Linked DNA regions of Homo sapiens: regions 1, 2, 4 and 5 are each linked to region 3. Evidence: promoter capture Hi-C in human tissues and cell types (Jung and others, 2019). All regions are on one chromosome and are shown on one strand. The core of a region is centred on a gene start or on the middle of the fragment in contact, and the rest is flanking DNA. Distances in the headings are between cores, read along the strand shown. Region 1 overlaps PABPC1L (poly(A) binding protein cytoplasmic 1 like). Region 2 overlaps YWHAB (tyrosine 3-monooxygenase/tryptophan 5-monooxygenase activation protein beta). Region 3 holds the start of KCNS1 (potassium voltage-gated channel modifier subfamily S member 1). Region 4 has its middle 16 kb from the start of YWHAB. Region 5 holds the start of LOC124904912 (a long non-coding RNA gene).

Evidence for each region. Contacts are between HindIII fragments. The study calls those that stand out against the background at their distance.
Region 1: a fragment that was not itself captured here is called in contact with the fragment with the promoter of KCNS1 in region 3 in 1 of the 25 tissues and cell types used here (spleen).
Region 2: a fragment that was not itself captured here is called in contact with the fragment with the promoter of KCNS1 in region 3 in 3 of the 25 tissues and cell types used here (dorsolateral prefrontal cortex, lymphoblastoid cells and spleen).
Region 4: a fragment that was not itself captured here is called in contact with the fragment with the promoter of KCNS1 in region 3 in 1 of the 25 tissues and cell types used here (spleen).
Region 5: a contact is called between a fragment that was not itself captured here and the fragment with the promoter of KCNS1 in region 3, in 4 of the 25 tissues and cell types used here (H1 embryonic stem cells, dorsolateral prefrontal cortex, lymphoblastoid cells and 1 more).

The regions. Positions count from the first base shown.
Region 1 is chr20:44,934,270-44,938,410 of GRCh38, reverse strand. PABPC1L (poly(A) binding protein cytoplasmic 1 like) reads right to left here. Exons shown (of 15, transcript NM_001372179.1): 11 at 2,914-3,020; 12 at 1,681-1,774; 13 at 220-350. Among named protein-coding and RNA genes, the nearest start is that of TOMM34, 24 kb to the left of the region's middle. The HindIII fragment of the contact is 3,369 bases long and covers 1-3,286 here.
Region 2 is chr20:44,888,329-44,892,236 of GRCh38, reverse strand. The region is part of intron 1 of YWHAB (tyrosine 3-monooxygenase/tryptophan 5-monooxygenase activation protein beta); the gene reads right to left. Among named protein-coding and RNA genes, the nearest start is that of YWHAB, 4.6 kb to the right of the region's middle. The HindIII fragment of the contact is 5,673 bases long and covers 1-3,908 here.
Region 3 is chr20:45,099,307-45,103,288 of GRCh38, reverse strand. It overlaps KCNS1 (potassium voltage-gated channel modifier subfamily S member 1), which reads left to right and starts at 2,162. Exons shown (of 4, transcript NM_001322799.2): 1 at 2,162-2,368. The HindIII fragment of the contact is 6,202 bases long and covers 488-3,982 here.
Region 4 is chr20:44,867,738-44,871,619 of GRCh38, reverse strand. No RefSeq gene overlaps it. Among named protein-coding and RNA genes, the nearest start is that of YWHAB, 16 kb to the left of the region's middle. The HindIII fragment of the contact is 3,967 bases long and covers 1-3,296 here.
Region 5 is chr20:44,953,651-44,957,473 of GRCh38, reverse strand. TOMM34 (translocase of outer mitochondrial membrane 34) reads left to right here. Exons shown (of 7, transcript NM_006809.5): 2 at 989-1,088; 3 at 2,254-2,406. It overlaps LOC124904912 (a long non-coding RNA gene), which reads right to left and starts at 2,258. Exons shown (of 2, transcript XR_007067599.1): 1 at 1,854-2,258. The HindIII fragment of the contact is 7,243 bases long and covers 1-3,823 here.

The sequences.
Region 1 (4,141 bases), core at 353-2,852, 160 kb after region 3:
ACCTACAGAACAACACAGAATTAGTCTACGGAAGGGCTGAAGTAGCAAACCCTTACCTAAGGCCCCTTCCACTCTTAAGATTCAGCAGGCCTTCAGGTATTAGCAAGAAGAAACACTTTATCTGGCCAAACAGCTATCCACTGGCTCCACTAGGAGAGCCCTTGTCGTTAGCTCTCCTCCTGCCCCCTCGGGCTCCCTGCTGCCCAGGCTCCTGCTTACCTTGGCATGGAGGGATTCTGGAGACTCCAGCATGAGCAACAGCTCTGAGTTGTCAATCTCCAGCAGCATGCCCGTGATCTTGCCAGCCAGCTGGGTGTGGACATCATGGATAAGGGGGTAGAGACGCTCCCCTGTGTGGAACACCTTCTAATGGCTTGTGCACGGCCTAGCTCACACCCCAGCATCCCAGGGCTCGTATGGAGTGGAGCACTGAGGACATCTGGGTTCTTCTCCCAGAACTGCTCCTTCTAGGCTATGACATTTAACACTTGATCTTCTAACATCAGGTACTTTTAATGACTGGGCCTGGTATTGGTGGTCAGCCCATCTCAGCAATGTGTCCAGGGCCCAGCCAGGACTGGGTGCCTTAAGTGGGGGCGGAAAGGATCGTCCCATGAAGAAAGTGAAAATGTTTACAGAGAACTACTAACAAAGACTTCTACTTCCATTAAGCTCATTCAAAATGTTTCTGGGTGAGGCCAGGCATGGTGGCTCACACCTGTAATCACAGTACTTTGGGAGGCTGAGGTGGGTGGATCACCTGAGATCAGGAGTTTGAAACCAGCCTGGCCAACATGGTGAAACCCCATCTCTAATAAAAATACAAAACTTAGCTGGTCATGGTGGCATGTGCCTGTAAGCCCAGCTACTCAGAAGGCTGAGGCAGGAGAATCACTTGAACCCGGGAGGTGGAGGTTGCAGTGAGCCAAAATCGTGCCACTGCACTCCAGCCGGGGCAGCAGAGCAAGACTCCATCTCAGGGAAAAAAAAAAAAATTTCGGGGTGAGGGGAAGGGGTAATGTGGCAAAACCCTAAGTAAGCTGAGGAAACAATGGGGCAGTGGTAATGGGGGCCTTCAGTAAAGGGTCTGGAGGTCTCGGGGGCCATGCAGTAAAGAACCTGCCAACCAGGAACAAGCTTGTGTTCACTTAGTGGCATTTTTATCAGGGCCTGCCATGGACACTAGGGGTGAAGATGAATTGCACAAGGAATCCAGAATCTATGGGAAACATCATGTATTTACCAAACGCACAGATGCCCCACCTGCCCGCATTGAGCACTGGAAACTGGTGAACAGCAGCTTCCTCCCGTTCAGGAGAGGTGTGAGGAACTTTAACCCCCCACCTACAAGCCATTTCTCAGCAGAAACCCAAGACCATACCCCTACTCCTCCCTTTGTCCCCTGATCTCCCCACATCTGGACTGTCTCCCAACCTCAAAGTCACAGGACAGCAGCAGTGGAAGAAAGCTCAGGACCATCCAGTCTGACCAGCGTTTTAAGACAAGATAACAGGTGCCTAGAGAATAGAGCCAGCTTGGCCACGGTCACCCAGTAGGGGGGTCGGTGACAAAGCTGGAATTTGACCTCACGTTGGACCACCAGGTGAGGTGTTTCCCAGCAGGCTAGCCAGCTCGCAGCCCTCCTCTTCTTGCTCCACAGTAGGAGAACCAGCCACTCACCAATCATCTGCTTTTGCTCATGCAGGGGCGCCGCAGCCAGCATGGACGCGGTCAGGGGCTCCTGTCCTGGGATGTGCACAGCCGGCTCCTGGACCTGCATGGTGCCGGGGACACATCCCTTAATCACCATGGACAGGCATGTCCTCAAAATACTTACCCTGGCAAGTGAGCAGAAGGCCAGGGAGGCACTGGAGGAGGGGAACAGAGGGCAAGGTCTGGATGATCAGGTGGGGTGGAGAGTCCCCAACAAGGGCAAAGTGGATTAGAAGACAAAGTCATGCCTCTAGCTTAGACGTTTCCTGTAGTGCTACGAACTTATAAAGGTCCCTGATGAACGTTGATAAAGGAAAGCCCTGTGTTACCAATAACTTTGTGCCAAATAAAGCACTTTTTATCAAGTAGATTTATGGACATGTCCCCGGCACACCTCTCACCCTTTCACATCTTGGTAATTTTAAAACATTTTGGCCAGGTGTGGTGGCTCACACCTATAATCCTAGAACTTTGGAAGGCCAAAGTGGGAGGATCGCTTGAGGCCAGGAGTTTGAGATCAGCCTTGGCAACATAATGAGACCCCTGTCACTACAAAAAAATACACAAAATTAACCAGGCATGGTGTCACATGCCTGTACTTGGAGGCTGAGGTGGGAGGATCACTTGAGCCTAGGAGTTCAAGGCTGCAGTGAGCTATGATCACACCACTGCACTCTAACCTGGGTGCTGTCAAAAAAAAGACCCTGTCCAAAAAAAAAAATAGACATTTTTGCTGTTTAAAGACTGTTCTCATTCATTTTGCAGGAAATAGTTCAAAAGAGACACATTGAAATTCTACACAGGATATGATAATGCTGAATTTTAGGCCTTTTTTAGGGGAGGGAGATAAATACACAGTCTTTGATTACAGTAAGTATTTTCTGTTTTGAAGATTAAGTACATCCCTTCAATAATCAGCATATTCTTAGAATACCTTTCCTTGGTGTTCATCACAAATACTAAGGATATCCAAATTAATTTTGGTAATAACCGAAGCAAAACAAATTGTAAATAAAACGTAATGCTGGCCCTCTTTCCCCTTCTCGCAGTAAGGGTGATCTCTTATTGATTGTACACATTAATAAACGAAACTTTACAAGCCAAGAAAAGAAAAAAAGCCAAGGCCCAACACCTTAGCTAAGGTTCTGAGCCAGGCGGCCAGGAGCCCAGGCTAAGAGCAGGCAGCTGGGCTGGCCTTACCCGATAGGTGCTATGTGCTGCTGAGGAACATTTGCACGGCAGGAGCGGCCGGCCTGGTGTACAGCATCCTACCCCACTGGGTCCTGTGGTCTGAGTACCAATGTTGGCTGCAAAACAAAACAAAACAAAACAAAAAAAGCAGAGTTCAAATAGCTGCTATCCAAAAACAAAACAAAACAAAACAACACCAAAACAGAAAATAACAAGCGTTGACAAGAATGTAAAGAAATTAGAAGACTGTGCACTGTTGGTAGGAATGTAAAATGATGTAGCCACTACAGAAAAACAGTATAGGGCTTTCTCAAACAGTTAAACAGAATTACCATATCATCCATCAATTTTACCTCTGGGTATATACCCAAAAGAATTGAAAGCAGGGTTTCAAAGAGCTATTTGTACAAACATTTTCTTTCTTTTTTTTTTTTTTCCTGAGACAGAGTCTTGCTCTGTCACCCAGGCTATAGTGCAGTGGTGTTATCTCGGCTCACTGCAACCTCCCCCTCCTGGGTTCAATCAATTCTCTTGTCTCAGCCTACCAAGTAGCTGGGATTACAAGCACATGCCACCACGTCCGGCTAATTTTTGTATTTTTAGTAGAGACAGGGTTTCACCATGTTGGTCAGGCTGGTTTCGAACTCCTGACCTCATGATCCACCTGCCTCAGCCTCCCAAAGTGCTGGGATTACAGGCGTAAGCCATCACGCCCAGCCTGCACAACCATTTTCACAGCAGCATTATTCACAATACCCAAAGGGTAGAAAAGTGTCCATTGATAGATGAATGAATAAGTAAAAATGAGGTCTATACATACAATGGAATATTATTTAGCCTTAATAAGGAGATTCTGACACACGCCACAACATAGATACATCCTGAGACATGTAAAGTAAAAAAACTAGCCACAAAAAGACAAATACTCTATGATTCTACTTACATGAGGTACCAAGCAAGAACAGTCAAATTCACAGAGACAAAGTAGAATGGCAGTTGCCAAGGGCTAGCGGGAGGAGGAACGAGAAGTTATGGTTTGATGGGTACAGAATTTCGGCTCTACAAGCTGAACAGAGTTCTGGAGAGTGGATGGTGGTGACAGTGCACAACAGTGTGAATATACTTAATGCCATTGATCTGTACACTGAAAAATAGTTAAGTGGTAAATTTTGTTATGTGTATTTTACCACAATAAAAAGGAATAAGCAGGGGTGTCAGGGCCTGGCAGCAACCTAAG
Region 2 (3,908 bases), core at 47-2,546, 210 kb after region 3:
AGAAAACTGACAAGAAAATCTGAAAAATCTAGGCTCGAATGTTTCAATGGGGTAAGGAACTGATCACATATTCTGAACAGCATTCACAGATGTACCATTCCAGATAGAGCATCCACAGCACTGTACAGCAGAAGTTTTAGTTCTGGAGTCTCTCTGCTGAAGAAAAATCAGATGCCAAGCTACTGCAGAAGGGACTGAGAAAGTCAGTGGGACCAGGTGGTTAGTGGGTGTTACCCAGAAAAAGTTAAACACTCCTGGCTCTCAGAGAAAACTACTCACTAAAAAACACCCACTATAAAACTGTCTGTGTGCCATTCTACATATAAAATTTAGAGTCCTGTAATAAATTTAATTCCATTCAAACATTTGCAGGTTCTTTGTTAGGAAACAAAACACAGCATATCTGTAATACAAAGTCATTAGCACTAAGTCCAGTGAACACTGAATTTGGAGAGAAACTGCATTTCTATTATTTCAAAATCCCTTCCCTCTTTCACATCAGCTGTTGCATATCATTGCTAATTATGTCCAATTAGCCATGATTAAACTTACTGAGGGTGTTAAGTGACAGGCGCAAGGTTACACATGTGACTTAATGGTAGATATGACAATAAATTGACTTCTTGGCTTAAGTAATCAATCCAAAAGACACTATGTTAATTCTGATCCATAAAGACAGCCCAATTGGTTGACCTTATGAATAATTTCTACAGTTTGGGGCCCACTGACATAATGAAGCCTATCAGTCTGATTTACCAGTACCGCACACCAAGTCCACAGGCTATGTGACCTCTGTGAATTTGTTTTCTCATCCATAATACAGGCAAATCTGGGCTGGGCGTGGTGGCTCACGCCTGTAATCCCAGCACTCTGGGAGGCCGAGGAGGGTGATCACTTGAGGTCAGGAGTTCAAGACCAGCCTGGCCAACATGGTGAAACCCCGTCTCTACTAAATATATAAAAAAATTAGCCGGGTATAGTGGCAGGCGCCTGTAATCCCAGCTAATTGGGAGGCTGAGGCAGCCTGAAGGCAGAGGCTGCAGTGAGCTGAGATCACGCCACTGCACTCCAGCCTAGGCGACAGAGCAAGACTCTGTGAAGAAAAAAAAAAACATAGGCAAATCTACTTACTAGGGTTCCTGTAAGGAGTAAACCTGTTTATGATATAAAACAGTAAGCACTCAAATAAATGGCAACCACAGTACATTCCACACAAAACTTAAAAAACCAATGGTCAGCCAGTGAAGGGAAACTTACTATGTACCTCATTTATTTTACACGTACTCTGCTTTCTTTAAAGACTTTTAAAAGAAAGGCACATAACAATTTCCCTATGCTTATTTCTAAAATGGCCCTTATCACAGTTTACTGCAATGCAAGTGTCTCTGCTGGCTCCCACACCGGATTGTGAGCTTAAAGTAGGAATCCAGCCAGGCGTGGTGGCTCACGCCTGTAATCCCAGCACTTTGGGAGGCCGAGGCAGGTGGATCGCAAGGTCAGGAGTTCAAGACCAGCCTGGCCAAGATGGCGAAACCCTGTCTCTACTAAAAATACAAAAATTAGCTGGGCGCAGTGGCAGGCGCCTGTAATCCCAGCTACTCAGGAGGCTGAGGCAGGAGAATTGCTTGAACCCGGGCTTCAGAGGTTGCAGTGAGCCAAGATCGTGCCACTGCACTCCAGCCTGGGTGACAGAGTGAGACTCCATCTCACAAAAAAAAAAAAAAAAAAAAAAAAAAGTAGGAATCCAGACTTGTATCTTTGGACACCCAATGTGGAGTACAAGGCCTAGCACACTGAGTGACTGCTTGATCAACTGATGCATTCTTAAAAAGTGAAAAAGCAATTATTTCCTACGTGGACAGAGGAAGGTAGCACACATCTGACCTATAAAATACAGACTGTTTTTATTGTCTTAGACTACTTTTTGAAAAAAGCCAGCCAGCTCTCATCAGGAGCAACACTATACATTTTGACTAATATTTTTCAGCTACCAATCATTGTATTTATAGATTCAAACTGACTTTCAACAAGCCTTTGGATTACTTTCTGTCCATCTCCTCCATTCAGAAGTCCAATCAGTTCGCTATACAAAAAGTTCACTATACAGAAACCCAAACCAGCTAACTCGTTTAGTAAATAACAAAAATATCCATCCATCATTTATGGCCTGCAAAGCACTCAGGGATTCCTAGAAACGCATTTGATCCTAAGTATCCTATGAGGCAGGTGACATTGTCCCGTTTTATAAATGCAAAGAGTTAACTCATTCAGGGTCACACAGCTATATATGGCAGATCTGGGATCTAAACCAACATTAATTTTAAAATTAATGCTCTTTCCTTTATGTAACCCTATCTCCTAAAGATCAATTATGAACTCCAATGCTCACTTAAGGAAAAGAGAGAATTGTCAACTTTTAAAAGAACTATACAAGGTTGTTACAGTGAAATTTTAAAACTGGCCTATTAAGCTAATGTTATCTAGCTTTAAAAATAAAAACAAAATCAAGGAGTTAAAAACAGCATAAAAACATGCCAAAGACTTACCAAAATGTCAAACAAATTTTAAAGGAAAGCTCTTAGCTGAGGGCAAATAATAATAATAGACAGGACTCATATCTACTTTATTGTAGCCTTCAATCTTCTTGTCCTGGTCAAGGCCATTCAGAAATAACCTCCTGTTGGTTCTTTTAGGGAAAACAATAAAATAAACTAACCAGTACGGGAAAAACTTACATAATAAAGAACTGGCCAGAATTTAAAAAAAAAAAAAAAGTTAACTAACCTACAATCTGCTAGGAATGACTTGAGGCCACTGATCATTTACATCTCATTACAAGTATCAGATACATATAACCACACCTCTATTAGAAAATCTTTTAGTTGAGAAAGCAGTAAGATGATTGGCCTTCAGCACACATATCATGAGACAGAAAGCACTTTTAGTCTGTTTCCTCAAGTATTCCCCTTAGAAAAATTCCCTCAGAATCCAGCTCCAACCGTTAGTTTCTCCATCATGCAATACAGATGACTGCTAAGATCATATTCACATAGAGATCAAAAGGATTCTAAAGCTTAAAGGTTGCTATTATGTAACCATAATTTCTTGCCCCTTAACTAGTGAATTGTCATCTTTCCCTAGAAAAATGTAGAAACAAGGAACTTAAAAGTATCTCTACAAGGAAATTTTAGTTCATTCTCTAAGGTACCAGCATTTAAAGGAAAACTCAGTTTGTTGACACCGAAAGAGCAGGTAGCACAACAGGATGTTTTAATTTAGAAGTTTCTCTCTATTTACGTAGATATATTTCCTCATTTCCTCCCTGCCAACAAAATGAGAAAAATCTGAACATCTACTGATGAAGTCGTAAGATAAACAAAAATTAATGGTCACAATCAAATTCTATTAGATGAAGAACCTAAAATTCTATGCCAAAGTAACTGATGACTTTCTCCCTAGTATGAAGCAAGTACTAGAAAAACTGGATTGTTCACAAGCTTGCTTCCTGATGCATGCTAGCAATTATCATCCCTACAGGCCAGAATGGGTATATGCTCCACAATAAATTGTCCTGTATCTATCTTCAAAAATAGCTAATATTCCCATTCAAACGTTTACTTTATTAGGATTGGTGTAAAGAAAAATTAAGGACTAAATGGTGTTCACATAAAACATATACATGTGCTGTCTCTACCACATGCAGAAATCTATAATATCATTCCTCAGAACCAGATCACCTGGTTTCATTCCTGGTTCTGGCACTTACCTTGCGCTGTGTGTGAGACCTCGGGAAAATTATCCTTCTCAGTGCCTTAGTTTCCCCATCTGTAAAATGGGGCTAACAGTCTTACCTTTCATTGGTTGTTATGAAGACTGAGCTAATATGCTTAAAGTGCTTAAAAGAAAGC
Region 3 (3,982 bases), core at 913-3,412:
GGCCTGGACTAATCAGGTGAGAGTTTTAAAGCCAGAGATTTTTCTCTGGCTGGTTACAGGAGAGGAATTCAGCACTCTGATGTCCCTGAAAGAAAGCAAGCATTCATGCTATGAACTGCCTATGGGGCAGCTTCTAGAATCTGAGATTGATCCCTCGGAGACAGCTAACAGGAAAAGAGAGACCTCAGTCCTATAACCACAAGGAAATGAATTCTGCCAACAATCTGTGAGCTTGGAAGAAAACTCTGAAGCTCACATGAGAACCTCAACCCTGGCCAACACCTTGGCTTCAACCTGGTGAGACCCTGAGGGTCCAGCCAGGCCATGCCCAGACTTCTGACCTACAGAAACCATGAGATCATAAATTTGTATTGTTTTAAGCTACTAAATTGTGGTAATTTGTTATGTAGCAATAAGAAAAATTAGTACTGGATTTTAGAGACTTAGTACAAAAAAAAGAAAATGTAAAATATCTCAATAATTTCTTTACTGATTCCAATGTTGAAATCATAATATTTTAGATTTAATAAAATATATCACTAAAAATACAGTTGATCCTGAAACAACACGAGTTTGAACTGCTAGTGTCCACTTACATGCAGATTTTTTTCCAATAAATACATTGGAAAATTTTTGGAGATTTGTGACAATTTGAAAAAACTTACAGATGAACCATGTAGACTAGAAATATCAAAAGCCTTAAGAATAAGTTAGATATGTCGTGAATGCCTAAGATATATGTAGATACTATTTATGTGTCAATCGACTGTTTATATTATTGGTAAGGTTTCTGGCGAACAGTAAGTTATTACTAGTTAAGTTTCAGGGGAGTCAAAAGTTATATTCTAATTTTCTAGGCATGGAGGAGTGGTTTCCCTAACCCCCACTGTTTAAGGGGTAACTGTAATTTCGCCTGTTTTTTACTTCTTTAAAATGTTGCAATCAGAAATGTAAAAGGACATATGTGGGCCGGACGCGGTGGCTCATGCCTGTAATCTCAGCATTTTGTGAGGCCAAGGCAGGTGGATCATTTGAGGCCAGGAGTTCAAGACCAGCCTGGCCAACATGGTGAAACCCCTTCTGTACTAAAAATACAAAAATTAGCTGGGCATGGTGGTGCATGCCTGTAATCCCAGCTACTCAGGAGGCTGAGGCAGGAGAATCGCTTGAACCCAGGAGGCGGAGGTTGCAGTGAGCCAAGATTGTGCCACTGCACTCCAGCCTGCAACAGAGTGAGTGAGACTCTATCTCAAAAAATCAAAAATAAAATAAAATAAAATTATATATGTGGCTCACATTATAGGTGTTGGACTGTGCTGGCCTAGAGGACTCAGAAGTCAGCCATGGGACCTCCGGCAAGTCACCACACCTCTCAAAGCAGTTCTTATCTGTGAGATAGGAATAATAGTAGCACTTACCCCACAGATAAATTTGCAGTTTGAGTGAGATTGAGGTCTGTGCTTGACCCAAGGTAAGTACTCAATAAACGTTGGTAATTATCATTATTATTAATAACAATATGTGCAAAGGCTCATATCCAGGCCCTAGTCTCCAGGAGCCTCTCCCCAACCAGGCACACAGCAGCCACACAACAGGTACATGTGTGGGGATTTCACAACCTCTACAAAGCTCTTTGGCACATGTTCTCTGCCCTCACAACCCACTTGGCAGGTGGGAATCAGGAACCCGTGGGCAGGTAAGGACACTGCGCCTCAGGGGTAAAATGATCGTTTCAAGCTTCACAACTCACCTAGGAAGAACCTGGGGCTCCAAGGGAGATGAGGCCACCTTCTACAGCTCCCTAACTCAGATGCCCACGGTCTGAGAAAATGACTGGAGCTCACCCCTAAAATGGGCGACATAAGATCCTGGCCCTGTCAAGTGTGTGTGCCAGGAATAACTGAGATCAATCACTTGCAGCAGCTGAAGTACCCTGGCACATACTAAACACTCAATTAAGTAAATCATGATTACTGTTGTTCCTTTGCCAGAGAAGCTTCTGCTGAAATCCCTCTCTACGGGGAATCCTCACGCCCTAAATGACCCCTCCTTCCCGGCCCGTAACTCCGGAGGATGCCCCTGCAGGTAGGCCCAGTCTCCAGACACCACCACCCCCCAGCCGAGTCAGGAATAGAAACCGCCGCCTCCGGCCGCCAGCGGCCTCACTCCCTCCTCCGGCAGCGATCGATGCGGCCTTCAGCCGCGGGGGACTAGGCAAGGAAGAAGGAAGGAGAGGGCAGCGGGGCCGCCTGCAGCAGGAGGCTCGGCGGGGCCGGCGGGGCAGAGGCGAGACCGAGTATAGCCAGCGGCTCCCAGCCTCGGTGGCTTTGGGACAGACACGCGAGGCGCCCGGGAGGTGCCACCACAGGTAAGGGGCCTCCTTTGGGGAGGGACGTGGCTCCGGGACGGTCCCGGGCAGCCAGAGTGGGAGGCGGGGCTGCCTGGGGCTCCTGGTGCTCTTACCCCCTCTAAGAGACCCCCCACCCCCCGCCAAGGAGGAAGCAGTGTGGGGTGGCCGCGCTTTGGAGACCCTGGCTGGTACAGTTTGCTCATCTGTAAAATGGGATTAGAAAACCTCCCTGGCAGGGTTGGTGTAGGGATTAAACCGAGTGAGGTGTGCATGGAGCCCAGAGGAGTGACTAGCAGATAGGAGGTGCTCAAAATAAGTGTGTGGAGAGAGAATGAAATAAAAAAACCTGGTCTCCAACCTTAGCTGTGCCATGGACTAGCTGGGTGATTTTGAACAAGTCACTTGGTCTTTCTTACTGATATTCAGGTTCTTGTCAGAAAATGTTTGTTGAATTAATTATCCTGTTTCATAGAGCAGGAAAGTGAGCTCCTGATGGATGAAGGGATTTGCCCAATATTATGCTTCTAATGGGTGATGGAACTGGATTAGAAATTTCATTTTTTGATGCCAAATGCAGGTGGAGATCCAAGTGGAGGTGGGAGCGGAGCTACATCACACGTTTATTGTGCATTGATTATGTGCCAGGGACCATGCTGCCGATAAACACCTTGCATCATTTAATTCTCTGAGCCTCTCCTGGAAAGTATGATGCTACCCGGTTCCACAGACAGGGAAACAAGCCCAGAGAGGGCGACGAATGCACTCAAGGACAGCAGCTAGTAAGTGGTAGACTCAGGTCTGACCACAGGGAAGTACACAGGATTAACATTTATTGAGCATCTACTGTTTTCCCAGGGCTTTGACATATACCACAATAATGATGCATCCAAAGCAACATTATCCCCATTCTAGAGGTAAAAGAGCTAAAGCCCAGAGTGGGAAGGAGACTGGCCTGAGGTCACACAAGTGATAGAGCTAAGGGTGGAACCCCAAATCCATTTAATGCCAAGCCCAGGTGCTTTACACACACTTAATCCCTAGTCTAGGCATTACTGAACCCACAGTGCAAATGAGATTGCCAGTGGTGAGGAGGTGTCACTAGCCCCCAATTCCAGCAGAGTCAGGAGTCAGTGGGTAGTGGAAGAACCTAAATCCTTCCTGAGTATCCACTAAGGCTGAGCACTTTCTATAATCTACCTTAATCCTCCAGTCATCCCTGGAGGTAGGTGCTATTATCTACGTTGTGCAGGAAATTGAGACCTGGAGGACAAATAGCTTCCTCAAGGCCCCAGGTGCGTCAGGGGTGGAGATAAACCCAGGTTTGCCTGACTCCAGAAGATAGTGACACCAGTGAATAATTTATTAAATTCCTTCTGTGAGCCAAGCCCAAGAAAGACACTAGGTCATTTAATCTTCATAACCACACTTTGAGGTGAATATTTTTATTTCCATTTCACAGAGGCTCAGAGAGGTGATGTTACTTGCCTAAGGTGACACAAGAGAGTCAAGATTCAAGGTCAGGTCTGGCTGACTCTACAGATGCTTTACATAATCTAAAGCAGGAGCTCTCAAACTTGACTATGTAGCCGAATCACTTTCCAATCTTGTTAGAACACAAAGTGCTAGACCCCA
Region 4 (3,882 bases), core at 64-2,563, 230 kb after region 3:
ACATTGCCCAGGCTGGTCTCGAACTCCCGAGGTCAGATAATCTGCCTGCCTTGGCCTCCCAAAGTGCTAGGATTACAGACGTGAGCCACCGCGCACGGCCCTTCATGTTGTTTTAAAATGTGACACCATCCCTCCAATGTCCTGTAAACTGGTAGTTCAATCTAGAGGCCTGATTAGATTTCAGTTCAGTTTTTGGCAATCATATTTTATAGACAGGACTTGTATTTTCTATGGCGTCATCTCAGGAGGCACATAACATCTAATTGTTCCTCAATGATCTCTCCCAATCTGAAAATATACTTTCTTCAGTTCTGGAATAATTTTCATGAATTATTTCTTTGAATATTTTCTTCCTTCCTCTCCCCATTTTCTATATCTTCACTTTCCAGAACTCTAATTTTTCAGGTGTTTGACCTCTTGAAATGGCTTTCTAATTTTACTGTTTTTTTTTCTTTTTCTTTCCAATTTTTCATCTTTTTGTCTTTGTGTCTCTTTTCTGAATATTATCTTCCAACCTGTACTAAGTCATGCCTCTGTGCAGGAGATAGGAACAGAAACCACTCTAGGTATTGTAGGCAGAAAGGGATTGACTATAGGGAATTAGGTGGTTACAAATTCATGAGAAGAGCAGGAGTTGCAGAAGTCCAGGAGGCTTTTGTTTCAAAGTCACCATAGATGTGATTGAGAGGCCAGAGGTGCTGCTGCTACTCTTGCTCTGGTCACTGTAACTATCTGACACACATGAAGCTGGGGACTAGGCAGTGGATCAGGGAGTCTAGCCACTTTGATTTTGCTCAAAAGTAAACTTCAAAGATAAAGAGGGCTGTTGTTTGGCTTGAATGAGAAGTTGAAATTGCAAGGCAGTCTATGATATTTCAAGGTCTTTGCTATACATGCAACCAATTTTGGCTTTTCATTTTAATGGAACAAGGGCTGAGATCCTAACTCAGAGAGGTCTATAGGTTTAATCAGAAATAGAGCTCCTCAGTGGCTCATGTCTGTAATCCCAGCGCTTTGGGAGGCCGAGGTGGGTGGATCATCTGAGGTCAGGAGTTTGAGATCAGCCTGTCCAACATGGTGAAACCCCGTCTCTACTAAAAATACAAAAATTAGCTGGGCATGGTGGCCAGCGCCTGTAATCCCAGCTAGTCAGGAGGCTGAGGCAGGAGAATGGCTTGAACCCGGGAGGCGGAGGTTGCAGTGAGCCGAGATTATGCCATTGCACTCCAGCCTGGGCAACAGAGCGAGACTCGGTCTAAAAAAAAAAGATATTTTTTGGCATTTAATTTTAAGTAGGGAAATACCTGCTGTATTCATTTTAAAATAATGTATATTTATTACATAGTAATGTGTGGATATATTTTTATTGTAAGAAAACTAAAATATTAAAGATTAAAAACTAAAATTCCCTATGATCGCCACCTCCCAATGCCATTTCTCCTCCCCAGAAGTAACCACATATCAGTTATATATAGCAACATGTATTATCAGTGATGGTAGGTTAGGTTATGCTACAATAACCTACAATAACAACATCCTCAAAGTCTCAGTGTCTTATATTAATAAAAGTTTATGTCTTTTGTTTGTTTGTTTTTTTGTTGAGACAGGGTCTCACTCTGTCTCCCAGGCTGTAGTGCAGTGGCATGATCATGGCTCACCGTAGCCTCGACCTCCTGGGCTCAGGTGATCCTCTCATCTCAGCCTCCCAAGTAGCTGGGACTACAGATGTGTGCCACAAGGCCCAGCTAATTTTTTGTGGTTTTTGTGGAGACAGGGTTTTACCATGTTGCTCAGGCTGGTCTCGAACTCCCCAGCTCAAGCAATCCATCTGCCTCAGCCTCCCAGAGTGCTGGGATTACAGGCGTGAGCCACTGCGCCCAGCCTAAAAATTTATATCTTAATTGCATGTTTGTGATGGGTTGAATTCAGCTGTATCTCTGGACACAGCTGGAAGAAGCAGCTGGAACATGCTGATCTCATGGAATAAGGAAAAGAGAGAATGGGGGAGCCTCTTAAAGCTTCTGCTTGGATGTCTCACATGTCACTTCCACTCAAATTCCCTTGGCCAAAGCAAATCATATGGCTATGCCTGACTTACGTGGGGTGGGGATGTAGAATCCTTCCATAGGGCAAGTCGGTAAAATTCCATCCTTTTATAGTGTATGTAAAACTCTAGAAATAGATATAATTTTTATATAGTTTATTAGGGTACTGAATCTTATTTCTTCATGCAAAAATATGTCTTAGAGGTCTTTCCATATTATACAAATAGATCCATCTCTTTTTAATTTAATTTTTTAATTTTTTTAACCCCAGGGCAGAAGGCACCATCTCCTTTTTATTTTATTTTTATTTTTATTTTTCAGATGGAATCTCACTCTATCGCCCAGGCTGGAGTGTAGTGGCATGATCTCGGCTCACTGCAACCTCCGACTCCTGGGTTCAAGTGATTCTCCTGCCTCAGCCTCCCAAGTAGCTGGGATTACAGGCGCCCACCACCACGCCTGGCTTTTTTTTTTTTGTATTTTTAGTAGACATGGGGTTTCATCATGTTGGCCAGGCTGGTTTCAAACACCTGACCTCAAGTGATCCCCCAGCCTTGGACTCCCAAAGGGTTAGGATTACAGGCGTGAGCCACTGTGCCTGGCCAATTCTTCCATTTCTTATTTGAGAATGTCAAAGAATGCATCTCCAATCAGCCAGTGGAATATTGCATTTTATTTATTTGTTAATGGCTTGCAACCCATAAAATAATCCATACATTATATCAACATGAATGACCCAAATGTATTGGTTATTGCAGCTGGATGGCATGCATAGCCTAGGTCACAGGTGGATGGAAGACAGACAAAACCATTTTTACTCTCTGAATTCCTCCTCCACTACCCCATCACTGATGTTGTCTCCCTCCCAGCCATCTCCCTTATTTGAGGAGCAATGCATGGGGAATAGGTAGTGGGCGCTGCAGTGCATACTGTGGTGTGCCACCCAGACCCCCATCCCCAGGATGGGGCATTTATTCCCCCAGCTGCTGGGAGCATTGGCTGCTGGCAGCTCTCAGCTGAGTCCCTATGACTGTTCGAGGTGGACATTCCAAGGTCCTGTCCTCTTGCCATCCCAGCTCTATATTCCCCATGGCATTAGCCAAGGCCTCTGCTGAGGTTGCACTGCAGTTTGACTTTTCCTTTCCACAGATGTAATCCCGACAGCACTCTGCAATAGACTTCCTGACTTCAAATCTCCATATTGGAGTCTGATTCCTCGGGACCTGACTCACAACAGCCCACCACAGGCTCTGAAGTCAGACAGAACTGGGTTTCAGTCTTATCCCAAACACCAACTAGATATGTAATCCTAGAGATGATAAGTCCACTATACACCTTGTATGCCTCGGGTTTTTAATATCAACTGAATGTTGATAGTTTCTTGGAAACTGCAACTTTAAGTGAAATGATGTATGATGAAACCATTTTTTCCCTCATAATCATAATGGAAGGACATTACTTGAGGACGTGCTGCACATCATTTTGCTTAAAGTCGCAGTTTCCAAGAACCCATCGAAGAAGTTAAGTGAGGACTTACTATATACACTTCTTGCAGTTACTGTGAGGATGAAATAACACATGTAAAACACTGAGCACAGTATCTGGTACGTACTAGGTGCTCAAAACAAGTGCTAGCATGTTAGTAGTACTATTACATTAAAATGATAATCTTGGTAGAGTAATTAGATGATCCAGGACAGAGGAGATGGAGAGATTTTGCTAAAATTCATTCTCTCTTTTCCCCTCCTTGCCTGCATTTCCAGTGCCCTCACGCCCCGCTGAAACAGAAATAGACCTGTTGTGCTAACTTATTTCCGGAAGATGGCGCCAGCAGATA
Region 5 (3,823 bases), core at 740-3,239, 150 kb after region 3:
GGTTGGGCACGGTGGCTCACGTCTGTAATCCCAGTACTTTGGGAGGCCGAGGCAGGCGGATTGCCTGAGGTCAGGAGTTCAAGACCAGCTTGGCCAACATAGTGAAACCCTGTCTCTACCAGGCGTGGTGGCGAGTGCCTGTAATCCCAGCTACTCAGGAGGCTGAGGCTGAGGCAGGAGAATTGCTTGAACCCAGGAGGTGGAGTTGCAGTGAGCGGAGATCGCTCCACTGCACTCCAGGCTGGGCAACAGAGCAGGACTCTGTCTCAAAAAAAAATACGTAAATAAAGATCATGGTGGCCACAGTGAAGGACTTGAGCCTCTGCGATTCCTGAGGGTAAGGACTGCCTTAGAAGAATGTCTAATAATTCTCCCCATGGGGTAGCTTAAGACTTTTTCCTGATTAAGTTCTCTGTACTCCCATCACACCCAGCTCAATTATCATTTCCCTGACAAAGTCCTCCCTGGCTTGACCAGGTAAAACTAGTCTCATGTCTTTCATGGGTGTTTTGTGCCCCTACAACTTTTGGTCAATCCATTTATCATACGTTTATCATCTTGTTCCCTCCCTCCCTCCCTTTCTTTTCTTTTTTTTTTTTTCTTTCTTTCTTGGATTTAAATGCTTTTTGTAATAAAATACACACCTATCCATCCATTTATCCACCCAAACCCAAGTAGTTACAGCATGGATTTCTTTGAGGCAGAAGCTAGCTATTTCTTGTTTATCTTTTGTCTGTTATCAAGTTCAGTGCTGGAATGAGTGAATGAGGAAATACTTGGTTCCCTTTGAATGGCAAAAAGCGCAGTGTCCTTCTGTCACATAAGAATGACAAACACGCCAGCCCAGCAGACCAACAAGCCTGAACAGGTTATAGTTATCTCTACTGCCTTAACACAAGGCCCAAAGAGCTCTGAGTTTGAAATGTATCCTAATGCCCTGAGGCACCCATTTTCCAAACTGATCATCTTCCCCACTCTATCTGGGCAGGTTCTTCAGACCCAGAAGAAGAAAGTGTTCTCTACTCCAACCGAGCAGCATGTCACTTGAAGGATGGAAACTGCAGAGACTGCATCAAAGATTGCACTTCGTAAGTGGCCAAGGGTAATTTTGGGATGCCTGAGGGTCTCAGAAGAGGAGGCTGGGTTAATCTGGCTTGTTTCTTCTTTGGAAGGATCCCATCAATTACATCTGGGACAGATATTAAGAAAGTGTCACTGAGTTTCACCAGGTCACTGAGAATGGGAGTCTTTATTTGGTCCTTATGGCCCGTGACTTGCATCTTTGGAGTCTTGGCTCTGCTGCCGAAAAAGGAGTGGGATGGGCAGTTAGAAGCAGGCCGTAAAGTCTTTGTGCAATTTGAAACCTGGGAATAAGGTGGAGTGGCAGACCAGTAACTGGCTTGCCCAGGTGCTTTTCTGGGATGGGAGTATGTGAGGGGAAGGGAGCGAAGGAAAGAAGGAGGAATAGAGGTTAATAGATTGTCTCAGAAGGAGAAAGGAAAAAAATGGTATTCATGAATGACCAGTTTTAGAGGACACTGAACAATGTTTCATATCTCTTTTTCTTCAAGCCAGTCTAATATTCTTTTATCATCATTAAACTCTCACATTTACCTGAAATGTGTTCTCAGATCTGATGTCCTCTGACATTGCTTTAGATTCCTGCCCTGGTGATAGCCAGGAGAGCAGGAGGGGTGTGAGCATACTCACAGAGCCTGTGCTGAATTAATTTGTGCCATGCCTTGTGCCAGATTTCCCTCTTTGAGTGTTCACAACCAATCTGTGGGGTACGGTTACCATGTGTCCCAGGCCAGAACTTGGTTGCTGAGGGTTGGGGCAGTAAAGTGATTTACCTGGGTCACATAGTTAGCAGCAGAGGTGGAATTCAGACACCACCCCATCTGACTCCAAAGCTTGTTTGTTATTCCCACTAGACCACAACTGTAAAAAAACATAGTAGCATGAAAGCCATGAGGCTTTTGTTCTTGATTTTGGGGGAACTGAAACTATGAAAATTGATGCATGTGCACACACATTTAACAAAATTCATGTTTCTCTGCCTTCTTTCTCCTCCTCACTTCAGTCTACGTTGAAAAATCCCTGTTCTGAGGTTTGGCGTTTTTAGCCATGTCTCTCGGCCAGAAATTACTTCCTGTACGCTGAGTGCTCCAGATAACCCTGCCTGGAAGAAACTGTAGGGAAACCCTGGTGGCTCAGCAGCCAGCCAGTTGACATTTTTGCCTCCTATTCTAGAGCACTGGCCTTGGTTCCCTTCAGCATTAAGCCCCTGCTGCGGCGAGCATCTGCTTATGAGGCTCTGGAGAAGTACCCTATGGCCTATGTTGACTATAAGACTGTGCTGCAGATTGATGATAATGTGACGTCAGCCGTAGAAGGCATCAACAGGTGAGCTCCATTCCCAGCAGGTGGTCTCCACGGCAACTCCCTGTCCTTCTTGATTGGCTGCGGGCCATTGCCTTGTCTGTCTTCTGAGGGGATCCCTTTGGCTACACTTAAAAAACTCCCGATGGGCATGTAGGGGAAGCTGAGAAAGGAAAATCTGCTTTTTTATTTAGCAGGTTTTCAGGGAGTCAATTACTAAGATTGATTGATTGATATTTGCCTACATGTGCCTCACAGTATCTATGTACACAGTAATATTTATTGTACACTGTTTAAGGTGTTGTGCCCGGTTCAGTGGGGGATACCAAAATGAGAAAGAGATACAGACCCCACTTACCTTCAAAGCGCTAACGCTAATTAGAAGAATAAGACACAAGCCCAAGCAGCTATGACAAGCCTAAAAGGATATGGTTTGTGGACATGGTTCAGTATATTGCACTGTGACCAATCCAAGAGGTTCCCCAGGTGCAATTCCTTTCTGGTCTCTGAGCAGTTATTGGCTTTTATCTCATGGATATTGTCATTTGTATAACTGATCATGTTTCCCCTCTGCGTGTGCGGCTAGAAAGCCAAACACTGCACTAATAGCAAACCCTTAACAGGGACTTCATGGTATGTATTTAGTGCTTTATTTCTGGCTTGACTTGTCTGCCAGCATTCTTTGTTTTCTCTTTGCCTCCTTTTTAACTTATCTGATTCCACAAAATCTACCAATTATGTGACAGACTTTGCTCTAGGACCTGGGCTGATGACTGAGACATACCTCTTCCTGCCGTCATAGAGGTCCCGGTCTCAAGGAAGACACCAGTCAGTAATAGGCAAGCACAATACAACATGATAAGCGCCATGGTAGGAGGCAGCACAGGGGGCTCTGAGGCCAGAAAGGAGCCACCTAGCTAGCTGAGAGGGAGAGGGGGAGGCCAGAGAGAGCTTTTCAGAGGAGGTGAGCTAAGAATGAGAGATATGGGGTAGGGGGTTAGCCAGAAGACAGAGCAGCGTGTGCAAAGGTGAGCAAGTGTGACAGATCACAGGAATTGTAAGAAGTCGGTTTCACATGGTGCTGCAGGCAGGAGCTCAGCTTGGGACAGGTTGGTGAGGCCAAGTCACACAAGACCCAGGGTTCAGGGCTTGGACTTAATCCTGAGCAAGTCAGCCTTTATGAAAAGGTCTTTAGCAGTGGAGCAACATGAGCAGATTTGTATTTTAGAGAAAAGCTCTTTGCTGCCATGTTGAGGGATGATATGAAGGGCAACAGAATAGAAAGGAGTCATGCAGCAATCCAGGGGAGAGGGTGGAGAGAAAACAATGGGACCAGTCAGGGGACATGTAGGAAGTATATCAACAAGCTTTAGTGGTTGCGGGGTATCGAGAAGGGAGGAATAGAAGAAGACACTCAGATTATTGACATTCAGTCGGAGGT